Regions from separate parts of the Homo sapiens genome. Here regions 1, 2, 3, 5, 6 and 7 are each linked to region 4. Evidence: promoter capture Hi-C in 16 types of primary human blood cells and fetal thymus (Javierre and others, 2016). All regions are on one chromosome and are shown on one strand. Each heading gives the region's core, a stretch centred on a gene start or on the middle of the fragment in contact. The rest is flanking DNA. Distances are from core to core; before and after follow the strand shown. Region 1 overlaps AKAP1 (A-kinase anchoring protein 1). Region 2 has its middle 73 kb from the start of MSI2. Region 3 has its middle 57 kb from the start of MSI2. Region 4 holds the start of CCDC182 (coiled-coil domain containing 182). Region 5 has its middle 76 kb from the start of AKAP1. Region 6 has its middle 59 kb from the start of AKAP1. Region 7 overlaps AKAP1 (A-kinase anchoring protein 1).

Evidence for each region. Contacts are between HindIII fragments. The CHiCAGO score rates a contact against its expected background, and 5 or more counts as called.
Region 1: a contact is called between a fragment that was not itself captured here and the fragment with the promoter of CCDC182 in region 4, in 1 of 17 cell types (fetal thymus). The highest score is 5.9, in fetal thymus.
Region 2: a contact is called between a fragment that was not itself captured here and the fragment with the promoter of CCDC182 in region 4, in 4 of 17 cell types (total B cells, megakaryocytes, total CD8 T cells and 1 more). The highest score is 7.5, in total B cells.
Region 3: a contact is called between a fragment that was not itself captured here and the fragment with the promoter of CCDC182 in region 4, in 5 of 17 cell types (total CD8 T cells, erythroblasts, naive CD8 T cells and 2 more). The highest score is 7.0, in total CD8 T cells.
Region 5: a fragment that was not itself captured here is called in contact with the fragment with the promoter of CCDC182 in region 4 in 14 of 17 cell types (naive CD8 T cells, total CD4 T cells, erythroblasts and 11 more); the score reaches 10.5 in naive CD8 T cells.
Region 6: a fragment that was not itself captured here is called in contact with the fragment with the promoter of CCDC182 in region 4 in 16 of 17 cell types (fetal thymus, megakaryocytes, erythroblasts and 13 more); the score reaches 17.8 in fetal thymus.
Region 7: a contact is called between a fragment that was not itself captured here and the fragment with the promoter of CCDC182 in region 4, in 9 of 17 cell types (erythroblasts, fetal thymus, megakaryocytes and 6 more). The highest score is 8.8, in erythroblasts.

The regions. Positions count from the first base shown.
Region 1 is chr17:57,092,589-57,095,838 of GRCh38, reverse strand. All of the region lies in intron 1 of AKAP1 (A-kinase anchoring protein 1), which reads right to left. Among named protein-coding and RNA genes, the nearest start is that of AKAP1, 9.0 kb to the right of the region's middle. RefSeq lists an enhancer at 2,456-2,955. The HindIII fragment of the contact is 4,020 bases long and covers 1-3,250 here.
Region 2 is chr17:57,181,441-57,184,656 of GRCh38, reverse strand. No RefSeq gene overlaps it. Among named protein-coding and RNA genes, the nearest start is that of MSI2, 73 kb to the left of the region's middle. The HindIII fragment of the contact is 1,373 bases long and covers 1,244-2,616 here.
Region 3 is chr17:57,197,922-57,201,404 of GRCh38, reverse strand. No RefSeq gene overlaps it. Among named protein-coding and RNA genes, the nearest start is that of MSI2, 57 kb to the left of the region's middle. The HindIII fragment of the contact is 1,721 bases long and covers 1,331-3,051 here.
Region 4 is chr17:57,743,672-57,746,676 of GRCh38, reverse strand. It overlaps CCDC182 (coiled-coil domain containing 182), which reads left to right and starts at 1,378. Exons shown (of 1, transcript NM_001282544.2): 1 at 1,378-2,182. The coding sequence starts at 1,405. The coding sequence ends at 1,866. The HindIII fragment of the contact is 19,296 bases long and covers 1-3,005 here.
Region 5 is chr17:57,160,016-57,163,122 of GRCh38, reverse strand. No RefSeq gene overlaps it. Among named protein-coding and RNA genes, the nearest start is that of AKAP1, 76 kb to the right of the region's middle. The HindIII fragment of the contact is 6,765 bases long and covers 1-3,107 here.
Region 6 is chr17:57,142,759-57,145,844 of GRCh38, reverse strand. No RefSeq gene overlaps it. Among named protein-coding and RNA genes, the nearest start is that of AKAP1, 59 kb to the right of the region's middle. The HindIII fragment of the contact is 2,027 bases long and covers 370-2,396 here.
Region 7 is chr17:57,112,793-57,115,977 of GRCh38, reverse strand. It overlaps AKAP1 (A-kinase anchoring protein 1), which reads right to left. Exons shown (of 11, transcript NM_003488.4): 6 at 1,342-1,519. Among named protein-coding and RNA genes, the nearest start is that of AKAP1, 29 kb to the right of the region's middle. RefSeq lists a silencer at 1,616-1,910. The HindIII fragment of the contact is 9,490 bases long and covers 1-3,185 here.

The sequences.
Region 1 (3,250 bases), core at 260-2,759, 650 kb after region 4:
CACGACCACAGAAGACATTACACAAAACTGCCCAAAAAGTATGAAATGGCAATCTGACAACAACCTGACTTAAAAGCCAGTAAAGACATCAGAAAAGATGTTGGTGTGCAGCAAGAAACCCTTCGCAGCACCTCACATGGGCAAAACCAAAGAGGTAAGACCCTGATCTTCCTAATGGCAGACAGTGAACTACGACCACCCCAGAAATCACATAAAAGCATAGAAGGTAATTTCTATTCAACAAATAATTACTGGCACTCACAGAGAAAAGCATGGTGGGACACAAATTAATCAGGCAAGGCACTGCCCTCGAGGCACTTTCAGTCTTGGCGGGGAGTAGTGGAGGGCAGAAGAAAAAAAAAAAAAAAAAAAAAGCCCAAACAGGCCACCACGGTAGCTCACGCCTACAATCCCCAACACTTCGGGAGGATTGCTTGAGGCCAGGAGCTCAAGACCAGCCTGGGCAATATAGTGAGACCTTGTATCTACAAAAAAAAAATTTTTTTTTAATTACCCAGGCATAGTGGCGCACACCTGTAGTCCCAACTACTCGAGAGGCTGAGGTGGGAGAATTGCTTGAACCCAGGAGGCAGAGGTTGCAGTGAGCCGAGATCGCACCACTGCACTCCAACCTGGGCAACAGAGTGACACCTTGTCTCAAAAAACAAGCAATGACCTTTTCTCCAGTGGGCCTGTTACTGCCACTCTCTGCTACTGACCAACTGAAAGTTTTGTCCATAGGACATGGAAGTGCCCTGTTAGGGGTGAAGGAGGAACAGAAAATGGGGTGCCAGTGTCCTCAGACTAGAATGTTCTAGTATCTTGGGGTAGGAATGAGAGAATATAAGCCTGAATGCCAGCATTATGGGAGCCAAGGAGAGTTGGGATGCCCCATTCAATATATAGACTTTCATTCAAGACCCATCTTCAGCCAGGCACGATGGCTCACACCTGTAATCCCAACACTTTGGGAAGTTGGAAGATTACTTGAGCCCAGGAGTTCGAGACTAGCCTGGGCAATGTGGTGAGACCTCATCTCTACAAAAAAAAATTTAAAAGAATTAGTCGGGCATAGTAGTACATGCCTCTTGTCCCAGCTACTGAGCAGGCTGAGGTGGGAGGATCACTTGAGCCCAGGAAATCAAGGCTGCAGTGAGCTATGATGGCATTACTGCACTCCAGCCTGGGGGACAGTGAGACCTGTCTTTAAAAAAAAAAAAAAAAAAAAAAAGTTGGGGGGGACCCATTTTCACCACTCCCTGGTACCCAAATCCAGATCGCCACATTTATAACTTCTCTAAAAAGTGAAGCCAGACCTTCTGCTGGCCTGGCCTGGCGGAAGGGCTCCACAGGCCTAGTTGTCTGCTGACTTCAGCCACCCAACTGAAGGCCCAATCCATGCCTTCAAAGGTGCCTGTCCCTGCATGGATCGGCTGGCTTCTTGTGGGCCACAAACCACGCACACCTTCTCAGCAAGCTACTGAACGATGGGCTCCCCCAAGACAAGGAAATCAACCAAGAAAGGAGGGGCACTGGATCCAGAAACGAGACAAGAGAAGGGGAGAGGGAATTCCAAGGCTGAAGGGGAAGCAGAGCCAGGGAAAAGGGATGCGCCCAGGAGAAACGTGGAACCGTTGCGAGTACCTGGTATGTGGAGCCACAGTGAGAGCCACTTTCCCCCAATGACAGGCATTCCACAGCAATGGTGGAGGCTGCGAGGTGGTCAGGGAACTGGTGAGAGAGACAGAAAATTAAGCAAAAGAAACTAAGGAAATTAACTAGGAGAGGAGAAGAAGAAAATGAAGGAAAAGAAGAAATATGGGAAACTAAAAACCTTGCAGCCATAAACAAGGTTCATATTATAATAATGTATATTCTGAAGATCAACTTGACCAAAACTTGGGCTATCTCTACACTGGGATGATGAGGGAAGAAAAAAGCATAGGAACGAGCTAAATCCTATCTCCCACAGCAGAAAAACAAATCAGATAATAATCCTTAAAAAGAAAGAAAATAATACTACTGACAATGGTGGGGACAGCTGGAAGAATTGAAAGTAATGGGGGTGGGGGGCAGTGGGCAAAGGACTGTCCTTTCAAGCCTTGTACACAGTCAAAAGCCAAATCCTTTCTACAAGTAATGTTTTGATAGAAAACACGTTATTAAGATACATACAAGTAGCAATGCATGCTCTATTACCACACAGCTTTATGTTTCTTATTAACCATCCTAAATTTGCATTAATGTCAACTCATCTGTGTACAAACTTGTAAGGCCTTATTTTCCTATAATAATTGATGCCAATTTTGCTTCAGAGACCCCCAGCTGCCCAGCTGACATAATAGTAATATCAAAAAGAGAGCATGCTTATTGACAGGTTAGATCCCTCTGGAAGCAAGGCATTGAGGGCTAGCCAGCATCAGATGGCTGGACCTCTCAGGGCCAGTCATTTAACAAAGAGTTTAACACGCACTGTGAGCCAAGTTCGCTGGGCACATAAGGCAAAGAGATCCCTCAGGAAGCAAAGGTGGAAGGAAGGGTAGAGAGTCAAATTACAGGTAAGATACTGCAAAGATTCCGCGACTTAAATATAAAGACCTGCAGCCTCTCTCAACTGATTGAGAGAACTGAGCCCTAAGGCTGCCCTTGCATGTGATGAATTACCTATATCCCTGTGCGTGTAGCAGGGCACCAGCTGGGAGAGTTGAGGAACGGTCACCTAGTCCTTTTCTGTGTGCTGTGGTTGAAATGAGAAAGGCTGGATGGAGCACTTGGAAGGGGAAGCTGCAGACAGAATGAGGCGGGAATGCCTCTTGGAAGAGGTGGCATCAGAACTGGAACACTTGAGAACTGTGCCAAGATCTGGGGGGAAGCAGGAGGAGAGCGGGGAGAAAGTTCCAGGCAGGAAGAACATGTGCCAAAGTCCTAAGGCAGGAACAGGCTTGGCTGACTCAAGAGGTAGCAAGAGGGGAGGTGAAGATGAGGCAGAGCATGGCTCTCAGAAAAAGGGCTCTCCAACATCACTGCGCGGAAGGCCAGTCGGACTCGCAAGAACCCCAAGGGACACGGTCCACCAAACTTTCTCCAGAGGGGAAAGCGATGTGCCTGAAGAGCCAAGGGGCTTTAGTTCTTAATTAATAAGCAGAAGCTGCTTCCAGACTTGATTCCTGAAACAGGATGCCTCTGTGGCTGGTAGCATGACAGGTACACTGTGTAGGTAAACAGGGGCTTGCTTTTACCTTTAAGTTCT
Region 2 (3,216 bases), core at 681-3,180, 560 kb after region 4:
AATGTTACCTCACTAAAAATAAATAAATAAAAATATATCCTCGATTTTCCAGTTTCAGCCATGACTCAGTATCTGGTTTCAACCTCAACTGTAAATAACCATAATCATGAACAAAAGATAGGAAGCAACTGATTTCAGGCATTGGGCAAGTGCTGAGCTGTGTCTTTGTAGCAGTGGCAACCCCATATTCGCCCTGGCTTTCTGCCTGGGAGGGTGGTTTCCAAGCCGTAGTGGAGGCAGTGGAGCCCAACCATGGTGTAGTGTTGCACTGGGCAGAAAAAACAGGGACCTGGTGGAGGAGACAGATCAGAGTTCAGGGCTCTAAGATGGCTGGAACTTGTGGGCTATGGAGCAGAGGGAACTGCAGAAAAGGAAACCCAGAAATCTGTGAAGCGGTTCCCTTCAAGCACCTGGACAAATCCTGAGCTGCTTGTGCCCAGGGTGGTAATTCACAAGGTCTGGTAGAGAACAGCTGACGAAGGGCTGACAGTTGAACAGAGATTTCAAGGATTGAAATCCCCGGGCACTGTGGCTCATGCCTGGAATTCCAGCACTTGGGAGGCCGAGGTGGGTGGATCACTTGAGACCAGGAGTTCAAGACCAGCCTGGACAACATGGTGAAACCCCATCTCTACTAAAAATACAAAAATTAGCCAGGTGTGGTGGTGGGCACCTTTAATGCCAGCTACTTGGGAGGCTGAGGCAAGAGAATTGTTTGAAGCTGGGTGGCAGAGGTTGCAGTGAGCTGAGATTGCACCACTGCACCCCAGCCTGGGCAACAGAGCAAGACCCTGTCTCAAAAAAAAAAAAAAAAAAAGAAAAAAAGAATACTGGCAAGTCTTTGGAATTCTGACCCAGACAGAGCCAAGACACACAGGGCCTTCAGTAGAGACCCCCCAGAAAGACCTCGTTGTAGAAATAAGGACCATGTCCTAGGAGCAGGTGCTTGGCCTAGGAATAAGGGTGAAACTGAAATAGATCCACCTTAACAAAAACTAAAACCAAACCTCAACAAGAGTGAGGTGACCCATCAAAAATTTAGCTACCTGCCCCCACCCCCAAAAAATTCAACACTCTTTAGAAAAACATTTTTAAAATCCAGAGTCGCTATGATACATCAGTCACAATACCAAGAATGTAATGAAAAATTACTACCCATTTTTCTCTTTCTATGTTCTTGGCCTTTGTCCTGTGATATGATTAAGTTACTTAGAGACAGTTTGATTCTTTCAGGTATTAAGCTTTGTCAGGTGAGACTAAAGCAGCATTTTGGGCTAATTTTGTACCATTATTTGAGGCAAAACTCTTCTGAGGACACTAACTGGGGACTCTCTCTGAATCATGAGGCTTTCTATTCTGGCAGAAACAGGAATTATTCCCAGTCCTGCGTAAGTTTGGGGCGTCGTTCTCTCTGATGCTCTTCAGTTGTTCTTTCTTCAGTTCTGCATGGTTTTCTCACATGCACGCACTGACAGGTATTTAGCTGAAGACTCAAGGAGAGTTCTCCAAATGTCTCCAGAACTCTCTTCCCCTCCCTCCTCCTCCAGTTCCCTTTCCCCTCGCCTCCTGATCTCCCACCCCTATCCAAGCTCTATTCTCCCTAATACTCTGTCCTATAAACTCTAATTACCTTGGCCTCCCCAGGATCCCAGCTCCATATCCTCAATTCAGGGAAACTGCTGGCTTCCATGTGGGTTTTCCCTCCCTATTCTGAGGCCTGGAATCTGTCTCTAGGCAAAGAGCTGGGGCAATTGTAGGAAGCTCATCTTATTTGACTCCCTAACCTCAACTGTCATTAGCCATTGTTGCCTGATATTCTACTTTATTTATTTATTTATTATTATTTTTTTTAGTCACTCCAGGCAGAAGGGCAAATCTGGTTCCTGTTAGTCCATCTTAACTATAACTTACAACAATACATTCAATTACTTAGAGGAAATGAAAACATTTTTTGAAAAAGAAAACTTTTGAAACTGATCCAAGAAGGAATAAAAAATATGAATCATCCTATATTTGTTAAAAATTGAATTCATCAGCTGTGTGTGGTGGCTCACGCCTGTAATCCCAGCACTTTGGGAGACCAAGGCGGGCAGATCACCTGAGGTCAGGAGTTCAAGACCAGCCTAGCCAACATGGAGAAACCCCATCTCTACTAAAAATACAAAAATTAGCTGAGTGTGTTGGCGCACACTTGTAAACCCAGCTACTCGGGAGGCTGAAGCAGGAGAATCACTTGAACCTGGGAGGCGGAGGTTGCAGTGAGCCAAGATTGCACCACTGCACTCCAGCCTAAGTGAAAAGAGTGAAACTCCATCTGAAAACAAAAACAAAAACAAAAACAAAAACAAATTGAATTCATCATTTAAAACCTTTTCACAAAGAAAACTACAGGTCCATGGCCGGGTGCAGTGGCTCACGCCTGTAATCCCAGCACTTTGGGAGGCTGAGGCAGGCAGATCACAAGGTCAGGAGATGAGAACATCCTGGCTAACATGGTGAAACCCTGTCTGTACTAAAAATACAAAAAAATTAGCCGGGTGTGGTGACAGGTACCTGTAGTCCCAGCTACTTGGGAGGCTGAGACAGGAGAATGGCGTGAACCTGCGAGGTGAAGCTTGCAGTGAGCCGAGGTGGCGCCACTGCGCTCCAGCCTGGGTGACAGAGTGAGACTCCGTCTCAAAAAAAAAGAGAAAACTACAGGTCCATATGCCTTCACTGGTGAATCCTATTAAAATTTTTGAAAATAAATAATACTAATGTTATACAAATGTTTCCAGAGAACTGAGGAAGATAAAATAACACCCAATAATACCCAACTCAGCAGAAACCTGATATCAAATTCTCACAAGGCCATTATAAGGAAAAGAAAATTTTAAACCAAAATCATTTATGAACATAGACATAGACAAAAATCCTAAACAAAGGCCAGCCACAGTGGCTGCTGCCTATAATTCCAGTACTTTAGGAGGCCAAGGCAAGAGGGTTGCTTGAGCTCAGGAGTTTGAGACCAGCCTGGGGAACATACTGAGACCTTGTCTCTACTAAAAATTAAAAAAAAAAAAAAAAAACTAGCCAGGCATGGTGGTGCACATTTGTAGTCCCAGCTACTTGGGAGGCTGAGGTAGGAGGATTGTTTAAGCCTGGGAAATGGAGGCTGCAGTGAACTGTGATCACACCATTGCACCACTGCACTTCAGCCTGGGTGACAAGACCCTG
Region 3 (3,483 bases), core at 942-3,441, 550 kb after region 4:
AGACCAGCCTGGCCAACATGGTGAAACCCCCATCTTTACTAAGAATACAAAAATTAGCTGGCCGTGGTAGGCGCCTGTAATCCCAGCTACCTGGGAGGCTGAGGCAGGAGAATTGCTTGAACCTGGGTGGCAGAGGTTGCAGTGAGTCGAGATTGGGCCACTGCACTCCAGCCTGGGCGACAGAGTGAGACTCGGACTCAAAAAAAAGAAAAAGAAAAAAGAGACAACGTAACCCAGCCTGGATTCATTATTATATACTCATTATTACTATTATTGTACTCATTTTTCTTGTACTTTAAAGGAAATTAAAATTAAAACATGCTTGAGGACCTAAAAGTATCATGGACCCCAACTACTATACCTACCGTGCCTAATAAGTCAGCCCTGGTGCCAGCTTATAAAGAGCCTTGAATGCTGTGATTAGACATGATGGACTTTCTTCATCAATCATTGTTCAAACAAGAGCTCCGCGACCAAACAGTACTTTAGAAAGATAGCCCTAGTTGAGAGTGTGGAGAAGAGGCCAAAGAATGAAATATGTGATGAGGGAGAAGATGGTCACCGTGACTGAGATGGGACACTCAGGGCCTTAACAAGGGCAGCTGGCAAGCTCATTAATTTGAGGGTTTACACCCTATAATGCTCACCAGGTCTCCACTGGGCACAAGTGTGTCCTGGGACACAGGTAGGGTGGCGGTATGGTCTTGCCTAAGTGGATCTGAGCCATTGCTGGGCTCACCCCCTCCTCACGAGAGCAGATAGAATGCCACCTTGCAGAAAACCAAGATGTGGGCCTCCAACATGAAGCATGGAGAGATGCTCTGAGCCAGGGACCAGGACCCACTGTCTGGTTCTGTACATAGCTTTACTGAACACAGGCATGCCTATTCAAATCCATATTGTTTACGGCCACTTTTGTGCAGAGTTGAGCAGTTTCAACAGAGACCAAATGTCCTACAAAGCCTAAGATATTTACTATCTGGCCCTTTACAGAAAAAGTTTGCCAATTGCTCCTCCAGGCTATGGGGGATTCACAAGATGGGATTTTGTCAGAAATGGATGTTTCTGAGTATGTAAAATTTAAACCAAAGCCCTGCCTCTCCATCATCACTGGCTGCGTTATAATACAGTGTGCGTATCTCCTTCCCCATGCCCACCAATGGAAAGAAAAACTCCACACATTATCTCCAAGCAGATGGAAAATGGCTTCACTCTTTGGGTTATAGGGGAAATGCAGCAGAAAAACTTGTCCAGATGGTGGGTATGAATTCAAATGAAAAACCCACCCTTCAAAGACCAGGGTGTGTTCCCGGTGGGAGCCACACAAGCTTAGAGAGAAGGAGAGGAGAGAGATTTGGAAAGAAGTGTGGCAATGCTATTCAGAAATTCCTACCTGCCCTTTTGCAATCGTTTAAATAATCTGTGCTGCTCAATGGGTACTTTACCTGACCTAGTTAAGAATCAGATTGCTATTTTAACTGAGAAAAATGGTACTTTCAATCAGTTTAGAAAGAAGAAAAGAATAAACATTATCAAGACCATCTCTTAGAAGATTAGGACAAAAAAATCCAGGAGACGCTTCAAAGCTGTTTTTGTTTTTCTTGGCTTTGAAATACATAGACAGTCCTGATAATTTTATCTTCCTCGAAATATAGCAAATAAAGTCTATTTACTACTCCCGGGCAATTCCATACATAAATTAAAATAAAACACACACACATACAACACAAAGCACTTTAAACGAATCCTCCTGCGGGTCTCAAATCCATCATTTCTCTTCCTGTGGTGAGGGTTTTATGCCACAGATCAATGCAATTTGAACGTTTTGGAGGTGATTTTGTTTTTCATACCTTGCTATTTGATGAGTTTTTAGATGGCCATCTAAAGAACAGCTTACACGCTGTCTCTCATGGATCTCAGGGAGGCCTCAGATGAGCTGACATGTTGAAAGATGGTTAGCAGAGATAGAAGTATATTTTATCTAGTTTGTCGAAGTCAGCTTTTAAAGTTAGTTCAAACACACTACTTAGTGAATTCATGAAAAATCTTTTTTAACCCTGAGAATGATATTTCCATTTCTTGTCACCATATTTAGTAGGAGATGCTTTAAGAAACATCATCTTTCCCATTAAAAAAAGGCTTTCTAGGCACAAACTGTGCCACAAAAAGCATGTGGAAAGATAGGCTGATTCCCTTTGATTGTATTTCTGAATGTGTTGGTTTTAAAATGGGATAAGATATTCCAATATCCCTAATTAGAACTTTTTTTAAGCTGGCCACATAGGAAGGTGTTTCTGTGTCCATAAAAATCATCTTGTCTTGGTAGAACGTGCATTTTAAAATAATTTCATATGTGATTCATTATTTTTTTTCTTTCAACAAATCATCTATTAAGCACCCTGTATGGGCCAGATACTGTGCTAAACCTAGGAATACAGAGATTGAAGATACCGTTCTTGCCATTAAATTGCTCATAGTCTAACAGGGAAGATGGACACAGAAAAAAAAATTACAATGCAAAGCAGCGAGTGTGCCCCTAGACCCTCTCCCTGAAGTCTTCTCTTGTTACCGATGGCATGCATCAACAAGATTGATTGGTTGACTGGTTGACTGATGGCTACCCAAGCCTCATTCCTAAAAAAGACATTATCAATATGGCTAATCAAATGGTATAGCAAAAGAGCAAATGGATAGATTAGGTAGAAGTTAGCTAAATCTCCTACATTCTGCCAGAGAGGATAAATTTCTATCTCGACTCTTCCATGAAGAGCAGATACAGTACACTGATAGAGCTACAATAGCTTTCTCTTCCAGGCCACAGATATTAGACAGTTTGCCTTTACCCTCCCACCACCACCTGATATAAAAAATAAACACAGAAAGACATTATTGCTACCTAACAATGGGTAGGGGGCGGGAGTGGTGGTGAGGAAGGAATGAGATAGATGCTAACAGGGCTGCAGTCCCCCAAAGCTGTGCAAGTGAAGTCCCCACAGATGCAGTTCAGATGTGACTGGGTTCTGTGAACCCAAACTATGTAGTTAGAAAGCTTTTGGCTGCAAGTAACTGAATATCCAGTTAAGTGCTTTTTAAAAAAGTGTTTATTTTCATTACATACCAATAAATCCAGAGGCACTGATTCCAACCAAGGGGTATTCGAAATACTTAACAACCAATCTGTCCCAGACATTGACAAATGAGAACCGAAGCCTGACCAGTCAGAATAAAGCCTAGCCTTAAACAACCATTGCTGCTGGATCATACTTCCGGCTACACTCCATCCCTGGTTCCAGGCTGGCTCAGCATCACAATGTCAGGGCTCGGGTCCATTTCTGAGAGATTCTCTTAGCCCTCCCTTTGTGGTGATGAGATGGCTGCGACATCTCCAAACATCACTTTTCTTCATCTAGAAATAAAGTCTAAAAGCAGGAAGGAAGGGATGAAGGATTCTCTTAGTTCACCTCTCTTTTTTATCAAGAAGAA
Region 4 (3,005 bases), core at 129-2,628:
CCGATGCTGGGTAATTTATAAAGAACAGAAATGTATTTCCTTACAGTTCTGGAGGCTAGGAAGTCCAAAATCAAAATGCTGGCATCTGGCAAGGGCCTTCTTGCTGTGTCATTCCACAGCAGAAGACATCACATAGTAGAAGGGCAAAGAGAGGGTGAGAGAGAGACATAAAGGGGCTGAACTTATCCACTTATAAGGAACCTGCTCCCAAGATAACAGTGTTAATCCATTTATCTCTTAAAGGGTAGCCTAATCATCTGTTAAAGGTCCTTCCTCATAATCCTGTTACAATGGTAATTAAATTGCAACATGAGTTTGGGAGGGGACAAATATTAGCATCACAGCACCAGTTGTCTCATGAGGGCTCTGGTGTGTGTGCTGTTCTGGGTTGCTCTCATTAATCTGACAGCAACACTGGAACAGGAACTGGTTTGGGTAAAGAGATCACCAATTCAGCTTTGGATGGCTTGAATTGGAGGCCCATTGTGGGGGAGACGTTTAGATTTGGAGACCAGGAGAGAAGTCTAGGCAAGAGACTGAGATGTGCAAGATGAAGGTTTGTTCCTGACTAAACCAAATGTAGATTAGCTAGAAGTATTTTCCTTTGTTCTAATTATCAGGTAAAAAGTACAAGATTTACCTTTCTATGTGTTGTTTCTCATATTTGTTAACATTCAGGTATGTTGGAAGACCATGCACTCACTTGTTCCCTGATCCTAGTGTGTAGTGAGCACTTAGTATTTATTGAATAAATATGACTAACCCATTTTTACCTTGCACCTGCTGAATCAGCCATTGCTGTGGACCATACATCAAAATCTAAGTACATTTTTCGCAATTTCTAAGATTTTATAGAATTCTGACATCATTATAGGAGTATGGACTTGGAATAAGAGATTACTTTTTAGCATTTTAGAGCTACAAGTGGGATTAGGTATCATCTCTTACAATGTCTTTGTTTTACTAGTGAGGTACTAAAGCCCAGAGACCAGTCCAAGACCATGCAGGTCCCTTGCCAGTGTGGGAGACCACCCAGTCCTGGCAGCCAGTGAGCCTGGCCTGGCCTGCCTTGCTCTGGCCAGTTTACTTCCCTGCTCTGGGACTTGGTTTGTTCCTTAGGTTAAAGAAGAACTTGAGTTCTGGTTCTAGAAGGGTGATGAGTTAAGGATCCACATCTCAGGAGGGCGACTTGGTCAGATAAACAGACAAAGCTCTAGGTAACCAACCAAGGAAGCTACAATATGCAAATGAATGGATTGTGGCTTTCTTTCTGGTTGGCTGAAGGGGCCCTGATGTCACAATTCTAGGGTTTCTCCACTCCGAATGATCGTGTCTCTAGCCAAAAATATTTATTGACCTGGTTGGTCTCTTGGCTTCCTCTCTTTGTCCAACGTAGAAGAGACAATGGAACCCCTCTACCAGGCTGGGTCCATTCTCATGACGGTGAATACCCTACAGGGGAAAAAAATGATAGAGAGTGGCCTCCAGTCTGGAGACTTTTCCCTGTCCCAGTCATGGCCCTCCTGCCTCCCACCACCCGCTGACTTGGAGATCCTGCAGCAGAAGGTGGCCGGGGTGCAACGGGAACTGGAGGACTTTAAGAAAGAGGCATTGAAGTCCATTCATTACCTTGAAGACGCCTTCTGCGAGATGAATGGAGCCCTGGTGCAACAGGAGGAGCAGGCGGCTCGCGTGAGGCAGCGGCTAAGGGAGGAGGAGGACCGTGGCATCGTGCGCAACAAGGTTCTCACCTTCCTGTTGCCGCGCGAGAAACAGCTCCGGGAGCACTGCAAGCGGCTGGAGGACCTGCTGCTGGACAGGGGACGTGACGCCCTGCGTGCCACCAAGAAGAGCCAGGCTGACTGAACCTCGTGGGTGGCACTAGCCAAGCACCAAGTTGAAGATTTTTTTTAACGGAAGGAGAAACCCCAAGTCCCTACCCCCTTGCTTTCCCTTCCTCATTTCCATTGCTTTCCTTCTGCCTAAATAACACCTTGCTGAGAGGCAAAAAGACTTCAATATTTTTTTTGGTGAAATTCCATTTATCCAGCATTCTAAAGGAAGGAGGCACCCCAGTACTGAGTCAGGCCCCTGTAACTTTCACTTGAACTGTTTTCCTGTTTGTAATGGTACTATTGCTCAATGTATACCTCTTTATTTGTATAGTATATTCTTAAACTGATTGTGTTGAACATTCACCTTTTTTTTTTTGAATGATTTGAGGCTTTCATGATTTGAGACTTAACACCTGGTCAACTGATACCACATCACGTAACACATGATCTCCCCAGAGGGGTCGGACTGCTTGCCCGTGCACTAACACTACCCCAGATTGCTCTGTTTTTAGTATTCTAACCCTTGTCTGTATGGTCTTTCTGTCTGCCTCTACTCTTAGACTGTCACATCTCACTTTTCTTTGCTGCCTCTTTCTACCTCTACTTCCTTTCCATTTAGACTGCAGACTGGCCAATCGGAATGACAGAGCTTATTGGGACTGTGTGGGTGGAACTCGCTGAGCTTTAGCAACCGATAATGCAACACCTCTGAGATGGCACTAGGAAGTGGGGAAACTGATTTCTGTGTTCGATCCATGGAGCAGGAATTATTGTCACAGTGCCTGGCCATTTATCAGGCAACACACACATACCATCCCACTTACTTCCATAGGCACCTTGGAGGTGAGTGTTGATTTTCCATGGTTCACACTGGGAGACTGGCCGCAGGAAGGCAAGTCCAGTACCCAAGGTCTGCACACTAGTAAGTGGCAGGGCCATGGTTTAAGTCCAGGTCAGCTGTGCTCATTTGCATCCTGCTGCATCCTTCTCTGCTCCCCAGTTTTGGAACCACTTCAGGCTGTTCATGGACGTGTTCTTCTGGAAGGCTGAGGTTGTCACATGGGTGACTTGGGAGTTCATTAGCTGACACTATACCTTTTATTTCCAATTAGTCTTCTACTTCATCAATTCATATATCTTCTCTCTGGCTACCCAAATGCTGCCATGCAG
Region 5 (3,107 bases), core at 525-3,024, 580 kb after region 4:
TTAATAGGAATGGCTTCTTGGAATTAACTCTTTGTAGCTTTCTAATGCACAACGCACTTAGGAGTTGACATTAACATTTTAGGCCTGAACATTTGGAAGGTAAAGATCTATTGTCTGATTTAGCTAGTCCAAATGTTAAAATGGTCAAGGTCACAGGATTTATGTATAGTTGTCAGCTCTGGTTTGACTCCAGGAAAGACTCACCTGTATGAACCCCTGGACAGCCATTTCTAAGAGGTTGTGACAAGTCAGGTACACTGAGATATAGGACGGTGATGACTAGGGGCAATTCACCTTAGATGCTGTAGAAACACCACCACCACCAATTAACCACACATACACAACTAAAATATTCAGAAATACTCTGTTGTTAGGCAGTGGCATTTATGTCATTAATGCAATCAATATTTACTGAGTTTTTTAATCATGTATCTTGCCCAATGCATGTCTTCCATTTGGCTATTCCTGAGTTGCATATTTTATAACAAACTGGAAATAGTGTTTTCCTGAGTTCTGAGAGTCATTCTATTCAACTATTGAACCTGGGGAGGGGTGATTGGAACTCCCAAAATTGTAGTCGGCGGGGAAGAAATTTGAGTATCCTGGTCACTCCATTTATGGCTGGTGTCTGAAGTGGGAGCAGTCTTATGGGACTGAGACTTTAACCTCTAGGGTCTGGGCTAACTTTGGATAGTTCATATCAGAATTGAATTGGATTATTGGCCATGCAGTTGGCGTCAAAGAACTTGAGAAGTGGTATTGGAAAAGATACCATGTATTTGGTGTCGAGAAGAAAAAAAATCTCATATATTAATAGAATAAGAAAAAAATATATGACCATGTTAATAGACACAGAAGAAATACTTAAAAAAATTCAACACCCTTTCATAATGAAAATACTCTACAAGAAGGAAACCTTCATCAACCTTGATAAGGGCATCTATGAAAGTGCCTCCACCATCATCATACTTAATGGCAAAAGACTGAAGGCGTTCCCCTTAAAGATCAGGAAGTAGACAAGCACTTCCACTCTTGCCATTTCTATTTGGCATTGTACTAGAGGTTCTAGCCAGGGCAATTAAATGGGGGCTGGGGGAGGTGGGGGTGTGACACAACTACATTGGACACAACTATATTACAAAGCTATAGTAATCTAACCAGTGTGATACTAGCATAAGGATAAATGGTAAAAATAGAATTGAGAGTTCAGAAATAAACCCACACATCTATTGTCAATTGATTTTTGGCAAGACTGCCAAGACCATGTAATGGTGAAAGAATAGTCTTTCCAATAAATGTTGCCAAGACAACTAGATATCCACATGCAAAAAAATAAAGCTGGGTCCCCACCTCATACCACAAACAAACATTAATTCAAAATGGATCCAAGACCTAAATGTAAGAACCCAGTTCTTAGAATAGAACATAGGTGTAAATTTTTGTGACCTTGGATTAGGCAAAATTTTCCTAGCTAGAACCCCAAAAGCACAAACAACAAAAGAAAACATAGATAAATTGGATTTCATCAAAATTTAAAACTTTTGTGCCTCAAAGAACACTGTCAAGAAATTGAAAAGATAGTCTACAGAATGGGAGAAAATATTTACAAATCATAGATATGAGTCCAGAACATATAAAGAATCCAGAATATATAAAGACCTCTTACAAGTCAACAACAAAAAGACAAACAGGCCAGACACAGTGGCTCACTTCTGTAATCTCAGTGCTCTAGGAGGCTGAGGCTTGAGGATCACTTGAAACCAGGAGTGGGAGACAAGCCTGGGCAACAAAGCGAGACCCTGTCTCTACAAAAAACTTAGAAATTAGCTGGGCATGGTGGCGTGTACCTCTAGTCCCAGCTACCTGGGAGGACAAGTCGGGAAAATCACTTCAGCCCAGGAGTTTGAAGCTGCAGTGAGCTATGATTGTGCCACTGCACTCCAGCCTGGGTGACAAACCAAGATCCTATCTGTAAGAAGGAAAACAAAACAAAAACAACCAACCCAATGAAAAATGAACAAAGAACTTGAATAGACATTTCTCCAAAGAGCATATATAAATGGCCAACAAGCATATAAAAAAGATGCTCAGCATCACTAGCCATCAGGGAAATGAAAATTAAAACTACAATGAGATATCACTTCACACACACAAGGATGGCTATAATAAAAAAGACAAACAATGACAAGTGTTGGTGAGAATGTGGAGAAATTGCAACCCTAATAAATTGCTGGTAGGAATGTATAATGGTTCAGCCACTGTGAAAAACATGTGGCAGTTCCTCGAAAAGTTAAACGTAGAATTACCGCATGACTCAGCAATTCACCTCCTAGCTGTATATCTGAAAATAATTGAAACAAGTGTTCAAACAAAAATTTGTACACAGGTGTTCATAGGCACACTACTCACAATAGCCAAAATGTGGTAACAACCCCTATGCCCATCAACTGATGAATGGATAAACAAAATTTAGTATATCCATACAATGGAACATTATTCAGCCATAAAAAGCAATGACGTATTAATACATGCTACAACATGGATGAACCTTGAAAACATTATGCTAAGTGAAAGAAGCCAGAAAGAAAAGGCCACATATTGCATGATTCCATTTATATGAAATGTCCATGGGCAAATCCAGAGAGATAGAAAGTAGATTATTGTTTGCCAGGAGCTAGGGGTAAGAGAATGAGGAGCGGGTATGGGGTTTCTTTCAGGCGTAATAAATATGTTCAGAGATTAGATCATGGTGATGGTTACATGGCATTATGCTAAAAAAAAAAAAACTAAACTCAATACTTGAAAGTGGTTAAAATGGTGATTTTTATGTTATGTAAATTTTACCTCCATTTCTTCTGTTTTTTTTTTTTTTTTGAGACAGTCTCACCCAGGCTGGTGTGCAGTGGTGCTATCTCAGCTCACTGCAAGCTCCGCCTCCTGGGTTCACGCCATTCTCCTGTCTCAGCCTCCCAAGTAGCTGGGACTACAGGCGCCCACCACCACGCTCGGCTAATTTTTTTTAGTAGAGACGGGATTTCACCATGTTACCCAGGATGGTCTCGATCTCCTGACCTCGTGATCCACCCACCTCGGCCTCCCAGAGTGCT
Region 6 (3,086 bases), core at 134-2,633, 600 kb after region 4:
TTCCCCTCCCACTCCCCACAAACGTAATGGTCAGTCCTGGAGTAGCAGACTGTGGCATTAATAGCCTATGTCTGGAGTCGGGGTTCTATTCCCAGCTCTGCCCCTTGCTGCCGGGGCATCTTGGTCAAGCCATTTAAGCTCCATGCCTCAGTGCCCTATCTGTAATATGGGGGTAACAGCTATACCCGTTCAGAAGATGTTAAGAGAATCAAATCAGCCTTCAGCTCCCAGCTTGGCACATTACAAAGTACTCAATGAAGCTCGGTGATTAGCGCTAAGATGATTGAGGGCGGATTACAGAGGCAGTACTCTTGCCTGGACCTGCCTCAGAAATGCCTTTTCTAAAGGCAGGAGCAAAAGAAAGAAGCTTTGGGATTAACTCTTCCAAAATAGCAAATGTTCTCTCTTCAGCATTAGGGCTAACACCAGTGGCATTATTACACCCCAGGAAAAATGTGTCCTCATCAAGTCACAAAAGCCTGGTTTCAACCCACAGAGGGAACAACAACAAAAACGTCTGAAATGCTGAAAAAGCCAAGAGCGTCGGGTACACGTTATCCAGCCCATCTTTGATTTGGGAGTTCACTGAAGCATGACTGATGCATGGTTATCTTGGGTCCTATATGTCTCTTCCGTAAATAGACTTTTGTTACAAGAAAAAAAATGGACTGACTTGGAAAAACAGAAAGAAACACAAGGAGCAGCGAGACTTTTTCCCTTCTCACAAAATGGACAGGTCTGAGAACTCCCAGGATCCTGGCTGTTCACAGATCAATTAACCTCCTGTAGCCTCAGTTTCTGCCCTTGTAAATGGGGAGTATGCAGGAGTGATGAGGAACACAGATTCTGGAGACAGACTCCCGGGGGCATCTTAACAATCTCACTTACCGGTTGTGTGGCCTGGGACACACACTAGGCTTCTGTGCTTCTGCTTCTACCTCCTGTAGAAGCTACAGTACCTACCTCCTGGGGTCGTTGGGAGGGTGAAGCAGGATAATATACATAAAGCGTAAGGAATGGTGCCTGGCCCAGAGTAAGTCCGCAATAAATGTTAGCTGCAGACCATGAACCTAAATCCCCCAGCTGCAGTTGTGCTGAATAATGGGAGAAGTAGTCGTAGCAGTTGTTGCTATTGTTATTTAAACTGCCGCAGGACCTCTGATCTTGTGACTTCAGGTTCCTTCTGCATATGCCTCCAAAATGTAGGAGACCCTTAAGGAGCATCAGCGATTGGTCAAGGCCTAGGGATAAGCTAAACTCAGATGAGATCTTCCCAACCTTCCCCACCCAGAGGACCATGATCATAGGCCTCAGAGTCATTTTAATGTCAGAGAAGAAAAGAACCAGCTGGGCGCAGTGGCTCACGCCTATAATCCCAACACTTTGGGAGTACGAGGCAGGCAGATTGCTTGAGCCCAGGAGTTCAAAACTAGCCTGAGTAACATGGCAAAGCCCTGTCTCTACTGAAAAAAAAAATGCAAAAATTAGACAGGCATGGTGGCACATGCCTGTAGTCCCAGTTACTCAGGAGGCTTAGGTGGGAGGATCACCTGAGCCCAGGAGGTCGAGGCTGCAGTGAGCCACTGCACTGCAGCCTGGGACACAGAGTGAGACTCAATCTCAAAAAAAAAAAAAAAAAAAAAAGAATCTTGTAGGTCAGCACGTCCACATTCCTCATTTATAGATGAGGAACTAAAGCTCAGAGAAGGCAAGTGACCTGCTCAAGGTCACACAGAACAGGAGCTGAGCTAGGAAGACAGCTCAGAGTTCATGACTTTGCACATCCGTTCCCTTCCTGTTCCCGCTTACAGCTTATTCTGTTGGAGTCCCTGGCCCCTCACAAGGTCCCCCGACCTCTCTATCTCCCAGGTGAGCATCTGTCAGGTTATGGACTCATCTAATTATTGGCCACATCCTACTAGAGACCCATTTTTCTTACTGAATCAGGCCACCATTAGGTCCTGAAAGCCCCATAAAGTCTTCTACGGATGAGCAGATCCTTTAATCTATTATTCCCGAGTCCTATTTATATATATTTATCCATATGGCTATATAAATAGGGCTTTGAGATGTATACGTGGCAGGTTATTGCTGTAGCATAGCTGTTCTCCCCAAGAGGAAAACAAAAATGATGTATGGCAGAAGCTCTTTTCCATGCAGAAAGCTCCTGTCTGATTTATTAAGAGTTAGGTTGCAGTCACATGCTCTGAAGTAGTGAATCTATTGCAAAGTTATCTAAGAGCAGGACACTCTCAGCTCCAGAAGCCAAAACAGCAAGTCTAGGGTGTGGCAAGAGCTCAAAGAATCTTACAGCAGTCACTCGCTAGGTACTTGCCATATCCCACGGTATTAACTAGGATTCCTTTGGTTGCAAGTTTAAGCAAAAAAGGGAAGCTTGTTATAAGGATATTGGGTGTCTCCAGGAACTCAAGGAGAGGCATGGGGCTGGGTCTCAAAATGGCTACAGATGCTTCTCTCTTATGCATCTCTGCCTTTCTCTGGTCCTTAGCTCCATTCTTCCCTCTTGCTCCAGATTATCATTCTCCATATGGAAGAAAACATGGCAGCCACCAGCTCCCAAGTTTTGCCTCTTACAGTTTCCACGAGCTGACTTTGTACTTTCTCTGGTCCCAAGTACAAGGAATGGAATCCAAGTTCCCCGTGTGGCTCAAGGGTCAGGAGCAGGGTCACGAACCCAGAGCAGCTGCTGCAGGAAGCATTCAATGAACTGGGTGTGGGCAGGAACAGTTCCCAGACAGTGTGGGAGAATTTTGTGTGTCATCAGACAAAGCAACCCGAATGCTTTTTCTCTATACTCACTGTGTGGACTTGGAAAAGGCACTTAGCCTCTCTGGGCTTCAGCCTCCTTCAGTGTAAAATTGGGATAATGGTGTGCTCCATAAAGGCAGTAGTTTTTTATTGTTTTGTTCACTGATATATCCCCAGTGCCTAATCAATGCCTGGAACATGTTTATGTTTAATAGATATCTATTGAATAAATAAATGAAGCTGGGCACAGTGGCTCATGCCTATAATCCCAGCACCTGCTTGTTGGGAGGCCAAAACAGGAGGATCTCTTGAGCCCA
Region 7 (3,185 bases), core at 79-2,578, 630 kb after region 4:
CAACCGGCCCCAAGCAAAGCCTCCCCCAAGCCCAAGACCAGCCGAGGGAAAAACCTGGATGTGAGAAGTTCAGCCTAGCAAGTGTGCCGCCCCCGAGGCCATCCAGACTGAGAAGCATTCAGTCTAGATCCATTACTCCAAAACTTCTGGGACCCAAGAGGGACACAGATGAATAGGAATAAACCAAGTAAATATAGCACTCGGGGAATGGGGGCCAGGGCCAGCCTTACATTTAAAAGAAAGTCCCTGAAGAAATCAAGTGCAGCAGATCTCAGCATCCTCATACCTAGGGTGTGCTCCAGCCCACAACTCAGCTGGAGAGCTTGACCAGAAGGGGCCTCCTGGGCCTAAACCCCCTTCTTCTAGCCTTTGCCTCTGGAAGGTGCTGACAGCACCTGGGCAGCCACCCAGGATCAAGGAGTCACTAACCCACTGTGGGTCAGAGGCAGACGAGACCAGGAGGTAAACGTTCCCAGCAGCACCCCAACAGCTGCCCACGCTGGCCAGGATGAGGACCTGTGACATGAGGCTGACTGTGCTGGGTCCTGACCCTTGGAGAGAACCCCTGGCAGTTACCCCTCAGGCTCCAGTTCAGTCTTTACTGCTGGGTTAAGGCAACTTTAGAGAAGCCAATGAAAACTAAGTCCTTATCCTTCCAAAAGGAAAAAATCCACACAAAAGGCTACAGAGATCACTTCAGAAGGTTTTCTACTGCACTGAGTGACCCTGCCATCCCCTGGTGAGGAATGGGTGATGTTCTGACATTCCATCCTCTGTGATAAGGACAACAAAGATAATAATGACAAAGGCTGGGCTCAGACCCCAGATCCTGCTCACTTGGGCAAGTCACCTGAGGCCCAGTTTTCTCATCTGTTAAATGGAGATGACCCAACACGCTGCACAGGCTTGTTGGACTTGGGGATTTTTTTGTGGTAACCATTATATGCATAAGTGCTTTATATGTAATACATACAGTATTCAACACTAATTCCTGGAACAAGTGGGTATCACCCCCTTTAACAGATAATAAATAGGTGGCAGATACTATGACACTGGCTTTGAGGGAAAAAAAAAAGAAAAAATTAAAAAAAAAAATTAGTGGCAGAGCTGGGATCTGAATCCCTGTGTCAAAACTCTACTCCAACACCCATCACTCTGCCAGCCAGTGGAAACCCCAGCTCTGCCTTGCCAGGAAACCCACCCCAGCTCCATAACAATGGCAAGAATTGAAGGATGCTGCTTCCATGAAGGATCGCAGAACAGCCTCCTCCTGATCAGGATCCAGGGCAGAACAGGCAACCCCAGGGGTCCCCCTTCCCGACCCCTCAGGGCACTGCTTACTTTCCACTGGGGTGGGCAAGGTGGGGATTCCAGGCTGAGAGTAACAGAGGTACATCTGCTGGTCGAGGCTGCGCAGCGCGTGGAAGGTAGGGTGTGTGTGCTGCTGCACGAACAGGTGCCCGGCATTGACCTGGTTGACCACAATGACCTCCACGGTGATGCCATCAGGCAGCATGAGCTGTAGAGGGGAAGGGGGAGCGGTCACTGAAACAATCCTTCTTATCTCATCTTTGAATAAGTCCCGAGACCCAAGGGCAAGTCTCTGGGCTAGCATATCTTTGAAAAGGGCAACTCAAGACAACATGGCACCCAGAAGGTAGAGGTTGAAGGACTACTTTAACAACAGAAAGTGTTCGACACCCCTGTGGCTGTTGTCCTGCAATACCACGAGCAGCCATTAGGGGCAGTCTCACCTCAGGGCCAGGCAGGGAGGGTCCCACAGACACTGGGCAACCAAGAAGCAACTGCGGAGGTAGTGCTGGGCCTTGCACAGGCCTGGGCAGGGTCCACCTACCAGCAGTGCCCTCCCTCCCACTTCTGTTGATGAATCTATAAGACCCAGGGAGGGCAACACAGGAATGAGGTGGCCGCTGAGAACAAGACTCCTGAAAATAAGCAGTAGGCAGGCCCCAGGCCCTTTAGCCAACTCCTGTGGACTGGCAGACAACCCCAGGAGCCTATGGTCTGACAGCATCTACGCTGCCCTCCCAAGAGCAAGCAGTGGCCTCAGGTCAGGTCCATGGTCAAGGTCTAGCAGAGTCTGCTTCCTATTTGCTCTCCCTCCTACTGCTTACCCTCCTGAGGTCAGGAGTTCAAGACCAGCCTGGCAAACATGGTGAAATCCCATCTCTACTAAAAACATACAAATTAGCTGGGCATGGTGGAGCACACCTGTAATCCCAGCTACTCAGGAGGCTGGGGCAGGATAATCGTTTGAACCTGGTGGGCAGAGGTTGCAGTGAGCCAAGATCATGCCACTACACTCCAGACTGGGCAACAGAGTGAGACTCTGTCTCAAAAAAAAAAAAAAAAAAAAAAAAAAGAGAGTGAGTCTACGACCGAGCCTCCTGGGAAAAAACTCTTGATTCAGGAGTAAAGCATAAAGTGGTATTCAGCCTACTCTCACATATCCACAGGAAAAAGATATCCCAATCCTTTCCCTCCAGCCCAAGGGCCTTTGCAAAGGGGAAGACACAAAACTGAAATGCCTACCATCCATAAAAAAACAAAAAAACAAAAAAAAAACACGAAGGAGGACAATTTCCTTGGAGCTATAGTCAGCCCATCTGTCCATCTGTGTAAAACGTAGTCAACAGTCGTTGGCCCACAGAATTCTGCAATTCTACTCCCAGTGAGATAAGACCCAACCAGGGCCAGAGGCACACGGCAGGATATGGGCCACGGCCCTGAGAGACCCTGCAGTCAGCAGCACACAGGGGCCCTGGAGATAGCAGCTCTTCCCTCTGCCAAACTCCTGGGGCAACCTCCCAAGAGTCACTGGACTTCCGGGCCTGGTGGGGAGTATTCATTCTTCTTTGTAATTTAGGCACCTCCTGGGGAGGGGAAGGGGAAGGAGATCCTTCACCAGGGCCACTGTTAAGGCCTGACTCAACCAGAAGAAAGAACAAGCGCCATCCAAACCCATGATTCTAGTCCCACCCAGGTCTCAGGTGGTGAACGGCGACCCTGGACACACCCAATCTCCTGTCCGAACTACACCATCCTTTCTAAGCAAACGCCTAGAAAACTTAAAAGGTGCCCAGGGGGAGAGCCAGGAAAAGTAGTCCTCCCATGTGGGGACCAAGAGGCCTCTGGTTTCCTGCCAGCGCTATCACCACCTAAGC